Linked DNA regions of Homo sapiens: region 1 is linked to region 2. Evidence: promoter capture Hi-C in 16 types of primary human blood cells and fetal thymus (Javierre and others, 2016). All regions are on one chromosome and are shown on one strand. The core of a region is centred on a gene start or on the middle of the fragment in contact, and the rest is flanking DNA. Distances in the headings are between cores, read along the strand shown. Region 1 holds the start of LOC102723730 (a long non-coding RNA gene). Region 2 holds the start of SH3YL1 (SH3 and SYLF domain containing 1).

The links. Contacts are between HindIII fragments. The CHiCAGO score rates a contact against its expected background, and 5 or more counts as called.
Region 1: a fragment that was not itself captured here is called in contact with the fragment with the promoter of SH3YL1 in region 2 in 1 of 17 cell types (total B cells); the score reaches 6.4 in total B cells.

What each region holds. Positions count from the first base shown.
Region 1 is chr2:1,550,860-1,554,600 of GRCh38, reverse strand. All of the region lies in intron 4 of LALTOP (lung cancer associated lncRNA targeting TOP2A), which reads left to right. It overlaps LOC102723730 (a long non-coding RNA gene), which reads right to left and starts at 2,671. Exons shown (of 3, transcript NR_168373.1): 1 at 2,047-2,671; 2 at 1,744-1,863; 3 at 46-431. RefSeq lists a silencer at 3,682-3,741. The HindIII fragment of the contact is 224 bases long and covers 2,242-2,465 here.
Region 2 is chr2:262,641-266,221 of GRCh38, reverse strand. It overlaps SH3YL1 (SH3 and SYLF domain containing 1), which reads left to right and starts at 2,190. Exons shown (of 10, transcript NM_015677.4): 1 at 2,190-2,238. The coding sequence starts at 2,238. It overlaps ACP1 (acid phosphatase 1), which reads right to left and starts at 1,275. Exons shown (of 6, transcript NM_004300.4): 1 at 1,215-1,275. The coding sequence starts at 1,257. RefSeq lists an enhancer at 1,165-1,214 and silencers at 1,565-1,644, 1,715-2,294. The HindIII fragment of the contact is 12,050 bases long and covers 1-3,581 here.

The sequences.
Region 1 (3,741 bases), core at 1,104-3,603, 1.3 Mb before region 2:
GTAAGTAAGTGTAAGATAAAGGAAAAATAACATGAAAGTAATTTATAATCTATAACATGCACTTTAATATGACAATGATCACTGACAACTGCCTAGAAGGTTGGTTAAAGTTGCCTGATGCCTGCTAATGAAGATAAAAAAGAAGTAAAACAATTGTCAGTGGAACAGTCTCAATGCTTTTTACTTCCAGTTCCCATTGTGAATGCATGACTAAGACGTCCTGAGCAGGGTTTTGGAAGGTGTAGTGATCTTTGTGCAACGTGGAGAACCTTGGTATAAAGTCCCTGTGAAATGAAATAATTCAGATGTGAAGCTGTTGTAAGTTGAGATCATTTTGCACCTTGAGAGGAATGTGGCCGTGTGGCTTGAGTCACAAGGTGTGAAGCTGCAACTTCTTTGATTCTGGGTCAAATCTCTTCCTCATTCTTGTCCTGTAAATGATTAGAAAGGACTGACTGGTACCATAGATGAGGCCCCTCAAGACGATTACTCCTCCTTGTGGAAAGTTAAAGCGAGTTTCCTTGGAATGCAGCAAGCTGTGAGCAATCCAGTGAAATAGATTTAACCTGTGACCTCCTTGAAACAGGCTGTAGCCCTGTCATACTTCTGTCTCTGCTTATAAAATGAAACTTTAACTTCTCACTTTAAAAGCAGAGCCCATTCATCTAGAGTCTGTGTTTCCAAGGTGATGACCCTCAAGCTTTGCACTCAAATAAACTCTATACTGAATCATCTTTTCCAAATTTCATTATTGACGATTGGCATTTTGCTAACCACAAAGGGATGTGAAGTGGGCCTCCAGTGATCCCCATTACATCACCAACAGCCAGAGCCTTGCTGTCAGCACACATGGCTTGGGTTCACCGGACCTCGCTGGAGTCAACACGGACCTCTGGGAAGGATCTTCTCGGGTCCGAACCTCCCAGCTTGTTGAAGTTCTGACTTTTATTTGAGCCACACAAATTCCTAACTCGATAGGGCTGGAAGACCTACTGCAAGCTTGGAGTTTTGTTTGTTATTCTTCTGGGATTCTGCTGACCCCAGATTCAAGACTTTGATTTTTTTTTGAAGTTAAGGTTCTGTTTTGAATTATTCATTAGAGTTTCTAGAACCTTTTGTCCCATTTGAAATTTTGGTCAGGAAGAAAACAGTTTCTCTTTGAAAAGAGAAATTGAAGCTATGTGGATTGAGCAAAATTTGTAATGTTTGAAACTGGCCAGATTCTGAAGGCCAATTCAATAAGCAAATGTAAACTTCCTTCTCAAGTGACCAGAATTATAAAAGGTCCTCTAGGAGGACGAGGTAAGGCCCAGAAGGGAAGGACAGTGTACCTCCTAACTGAAAAAGGCCCTGAATGATAGCCACGTGTCATGTTAATAAACAATGAAGATGCTTTTATGAGAAAGGCTGCATTACAGGCTCGTATAGCCTTAGACAGACTCACTGCAGCCCCAGAGGGAACCTGCACCATCACAAAGACTGAACGTCATGTCCCTAACCCAGATGAATCAGATAATGTCCCTAAATTAATTACCGATATGAAAACCCAATAACAAAACTTTCAGATCCAAAACCTCTCCACACAGTTGGTTAAGCAGCTGGTTTAGGTCTTGGGGAACTTGGCAGAAGCAGCTGTTAATCAATCGTTGGTTGGGTTCTGGCCTGTTTTGTCTTCCCTGCTCTGGCATTGGTGTGCAATGGAGTCAGTTCACAACTGAAGATACTAAAATAATCGTCACTCACAGAATCCCATTAACGGACAATGCAGCTGTGTAGCCTGACCAAGGTCACCACGTCACTTCCTTCATGTGGCTCCAGGTTCGGCCTATGCCCCGTCAGTTCTGTACAGCTTGGCACATGGCCCTAGACATGGGAGACAACGTCCTAGGAGTGAACCTTCCTAAGTATCTGGGGCTAAGCCCCTAAACATACAGAGATTCCCAAACCATCTGCATTCAGCTACTAAGCTTTCTTCAAAAGGATCATGTTGATGTTGAAAAGGGGAGATGTGAAATTAATCCAAACTGAAAGCTGTTGGAACCGTACCTGATTTTGAGCCTTGAGAGGAACGTGGCTGTGGGGCCTGCGTCGCATGGTGTGAAGCTGCACCTTCTGCTTCTTTATTCTGGGTCAAATCTCTTCCTCATTCTTGTCCTGTAATGATTAGGAAAGACTGAATGGTACCAGAGGTGAGACCGCCTCAAGACCATTACCCTTCCTTATGGGATGTTAAAACAAGCTTCCTTAGTGTAGCGAGCTGTGACCAATCAAGTCAAATCGCTATAACCTATGTCTTGATCTTGTTGGAAAATGCTGCAACCTGTTAAACCTCTGCCTCTGACTATGTAAATGAGACTTTAACTTTCCATTTTGAGAGTCTGTGTTTCCTATGTGACTATCCTCCAACTTCGTGTTCAAATAAACTCCACACTTCATCATATTTTTGGATTCTAAGTATTTAAGCTTGAAAATTGCAAAGACACATTATCATGTTTATGCGCTGTCAGCATTCTATGGAAGTTTAGTGCAATTAAAATCGGGAAAAGGGTCAGGTGCAGTGGCTCACACCTGTAATCCCAGCACATTGGGAGGCCGAGGTGGGCAGATCACCTGAGGCCAGGAGTTAGAGACCAGCTTGGCCAACATGGTGAAACCTCATCTTACTAAAAATACAAAAATTAGCTGGTATGGTGACAGACACCTGTAATCCCAGCTACTAGGGAGGCTGAGGCAGGAGAATAGCTTGAACCTGGGAGGCAGAGGTTGCAGTGAGCCGAGATCGTGCCACTGTACTCCAGTCTGGGCGACAGAGTGAGACTCCATCTCAAAAAGAAAAAAAAATTGAAAAGACTTTTTTGTTTCAGTGTACATTACAACCACTCAAATTAGTTATGGGTATACTTTTCTTGCCTTTTTTTCACAGTTTCTGCAGGAGGTGGGCTGCCTTGTGCTGGTCAGGATGTCAAGCACCTTTGGGACTCTGCCCATTAAACCACAGGGGATTTCCTCATTATTGCGACAATTCCATCCCCAGAAATATCCCACGTGCCTGAGGTGGCGGCCATCTCTTCGTAGGGAGACTGTCGGAGCTTCCTTTTAAACAGACTCTGCCCTGTCTCTGTGAAGACGTTCAGGTGCTGAGCACACGGAGGGCGGTGGGTGGGGGGACATGAGACTGTAGGCAGCTCTCTAGAGCCCCTTTCACACGTGGGTCGTCACCCACCGACTTTCGGATCTCTGGGAGTGGGAACTGCACAGGCTGGGATGTTGTTTGGGGTCATTGCACCGAGAAGTGTTCCATGTGCAATGTGGTTAGAATCTTGTCACCCTAGGAATGGAAGGTCTTCAAGACCATGGTATCCAACCCCTCCATCATGCAGATAGGGGACCTCAGGCCCTCAGGGCGATAAGAAGGAATCAGGCTTTCGAAGGTTAAGGAAGTGTCAAGTGCAAAACTCGGTCTCTGGAGCCCTGAGGTGGAGCCTCACCCTCACCCTGGCCCCGGCGTCCTCAGCCTGTGGGCGCCCAACTGCTCTGACGCAGCAACTGGCACGACCACCAGCCCCAGGGAGCAGCAGCGAGTTTCCAGGGTTAGGAATCACCCGGGAGACAGTAATTCAGACTCCCAGGCTCCACAGAAACCTGCAGGGACCTCGGGGAAAGGGAGCTTCGTCCTAAGGCTCCGCTTTGGGGAGAGGCTGGGCGGCCACTAGGTGGCGCTGCGGAGCCGCGTCTTCGGCC
Region 2 (3,581 bases), core at 941-3,440:
CTAAAGCTGAAAACAAAATGAAAAATAAGCCACAGTTATTGCCATCGACAAAATTAAACTCAGCTGGGATTTCAACAGACTATCAAATAATTATAGTAAAATTTGTGTAATAAAAGATGTCGATAAGGAATCACACCTTTTCTGTATTACATCTTTTACTATATTACACAAATTATAGTAAAATTTGTGTAATAAAAGATGTCGATAAGGAAGCAACTCATGATCTGGGAAAGCAAAGGAGGAAATATTTAGGTTTGACTTTATAAAATAAAAAGGCTTTCCAGGCAAAATGCATAATGGGCACCCAGCGATGAAGGCTCAGTAAGCATGTGAAGTGCTACCGAACAACGAAAGGTTCTGGAAGGCAGTGTCCCGAGGGTGTGAGCAGGAAAAGGTACAGGAGATAAAGTGAGGAGTCTGTAAAAATAAACAGAAACTGCAGGAAATGCAAACTCACAGAAGGTTTTAAGTAACCGGACTACTGACAATTTAGGCCTTCCTCTCAGGGTGGAGGCACCGAGGAATATAACCTTGTAGTGCTACACCAAAGGAAGATCCCTGAAGACCAAACGGAAAATAAATTATGTTTGAAGTAAGGCAAGCTAAGTGTTGAAATTCTAGGAGTGAAAATAATTTAAGCTGGAAAGTTCCTGAAAAGCCATTAATAAAATACACTTTCATTTTTCATGGGCCAAAGTTATATAGGGACCTCCAGGTCTCCTTTGCTTGGCTTTTACAATCAAGAAACCCGAAACCGTAAAACTTCATCTCCCTTTAACTCAGATCCCTATCTAAGCATGGGCTAAGGAAACTAGCAAACAAAACAATGTTGTCATAGGACTCAGGAGGCCCCTAAGAGACCACATCAGTCCGACAACCTCCAGGCCTACCTGGGCCCATTGGAGGGGAACGAGAGGGATTCTAGTAGTCGCAAAGAAAGTACCTTGGCTTGTAGGGGCTGTGGCTGCAGATGCCAAGAGCCCCGGATATATGGCAGGCGCGAGGGGACCCAGGTTTAGCGGGCAGGCTGGGCGGGTGCACGGGGCGGATGGGGAACAGGGGCGCTGCGGCACACTCCTAGAACACCCTAGGCCTCCCAGTCCCTGGCCTCCTCCCCCTCATGGTTCCTAGGCCGGCGGCACAACCTACAGCGCACAAGCCCGATCCAACTCTCCAGAGGACGTCAGAACATGAGTAAGTCGGCGCCCTCTTACCCAGACACACAAACAGCACGGACTTGGTAGCCTGTTCCGCCATCTTCCCGCGCGCAGAGGCGCCGAGACACCGCGGCGTTCCGCACGCCGACGCGGCGCAGGCGCACTGCCACCCTCTTGCCCCGCGCGCCTGCGCAGTCCCGCACCAACGCCAACAGGGCAGCGCGTGTGAGAGCCACGCCTGCGCAATCGGCTCCAGTGCGCCTGCGGAGGCGGTCCTATGACGGTAGTAGGACGGGCGGGGAGGGTCCGCGGGTCACCTGCAGGGACTGGGCCGCCGTTCACCTGCAGGGGCGGGGCTGCAGGTTGTCCGGAGGAGGAGGAGCTGCGGGGGTGGGGTCACCTGGAGGGAGTAGGGCCGCGGAAGGCGAGGGGGTGTGTGTGTGTGGTGGCGGGGGTTGGCGGGGGGGAGTCACCTGGAGGGGGCGGGGCTGCGGGTCGCTTGGAGGGGAAGGAGCCGCGGGAGGTAAAGGTTACCTATAGGGGACGGGGCCGCAGGAGAGGGGTACCTGGAGGAGGAAGGGCCGCGGGTCACCTGCAGGGCGGGCTCAGGCCTCGCGGCTCCGCGGGCCGCCCACCTGGGTTGGGGCACAGCGCGAGTCTCGCGCACGTGGCGGGCTGTGGTGCCTGTCGTTCGAGTTCGCATAGAGGGGCTGGGCGGGTCACGCGGGGAACCTGCCTTGAGCCCCGCGGGGTCCACGCCGGACCAGGGCGGCCTTGGGCCTGGGCGCTCCCTGAGACCCCCACCCCCAACACCGTGCTTGGAGCCGCCGCGGGGCTCTGGGCTTTTCGATCTTGAGGACGGGGCGGTTCCGAAGTCCCTGAGGGCGAAGGCCTGAGCGCGGCCCGGCGGGCGCGTGGTTTTTGTCCCGCGAAACGTACACGGCGGGTGTTTTGCGCCGCCTCCTTCGTCACCTGCCGCAGGTACGCCCTCGCTGGGGCCTCCTTGTCCGCGGGGCGGGGCAGCGCGCCTTCCTCTTCCTGGGCAGCCTCGGGACGGGGCGCCGCGGCCGGGCGGGCAGCAGTGAGTACCCGGGGACCCACCTGTCCGGCAGCACCCTCCCCTCTCAAGAGCTGGGCGGTGGTGGGAGGAGGAGGACGGGAAAACCGGCGATGCCTCTGGGGTTTCTAGGTCGCGCGTCTGTTAACCGCAAACCGCCCAAAGTTAAGATAGAGCAGCTTCCAGGACTTTCTTGACCACAGCGATTTTGATTGAAGTTTAGCCACCGTCTTTTCCATTTTTAGAAAAGCTATTCCGAAGTTTGGAATGATGACGATGGTCGTGTTATTTTTAACTTCCTGATATTTGAACGGCGAGGTGTCAGCGACCATCCTTCCGTTCCACAGAAGCGTCTCTGAAGTTTGGGTCGAATGCGCGCGCTTGGAATGTGCGTGGAACCCGCGGCAGGCGCGGGGAGGAGGCCTTGGCTAGGGCGCCGGCGAGGTTCGAGTTTGCCAGCCCCCCAACCTGGAAGAGAAGGGCCAGCCCCTCACACCCGGAAGGGAAGGGCCGGTCCCCCCAACACCTGGCGCCGGGGTCGCGGGGCCACAGGGCGAGCGCGGGGTCGCGGCGAGCACGGGTCCTCTCTGATCGCTGGGCCTTGGCGCTGGCTGCTGAGTTTTTCCTTCTTTAAGGAAGTGTGGAACTGGTCTCAATCGGTTGACCACCTTAAGGAAATAGGATTTACACTGTGGACAGAGATGTGTCCTTTACACTTCATTTGAACCAATATGCCCATGCTCCTGTGGAGGCTGAGTTGGAAAGTGACACGAAGCTGCCCCCCCGCAAGAGAGCAGGTGCTCGGTTTCTCTTCTGCTTACAGGAGATGCATGTCCTGATTTCTTGTTCTCCTAGGTGTTTTTATTGAGATGTAGGGAATATCTGAATTCATAACGACTTAGAAAATCTGTACACACAGTTGAGAGAACAGGTCTCGAGGCTAAGGTGCTGTTTACTCCCGTGGGCTGGCCTGTTATTAAAATACTTGTGCAGCGACTGATGTTTACAAATTACTATGTTGGAGGTTAAAATGATCAAAGTGATAACCTCCATCCTGTCTATCATGTTTGAGGAGAATTGGTTATTTGGTTCACTAATGTTCTGTTTAAAGAAAATTTCTGTAAAACTAGTAAATGTTACCCCTCATCTTTTGTAAGTTAAAAAAAAGTTTAAAATAATGTTTGCTCATCAAAAGTGATTTGATACTTTTGTTCTGTTTAGGAAAACTTTATTCTCAAGAGATTTCTCATTCCGCAGAAATAAGGATCTGGCATGTCAACACAAACATAGGAAGTTGAGGCAGTCAAAGGGAAATAACTGCTACCCTGACTCTGCTGAGAGCCTCACAAGTCCCTGTGCACGCCAGC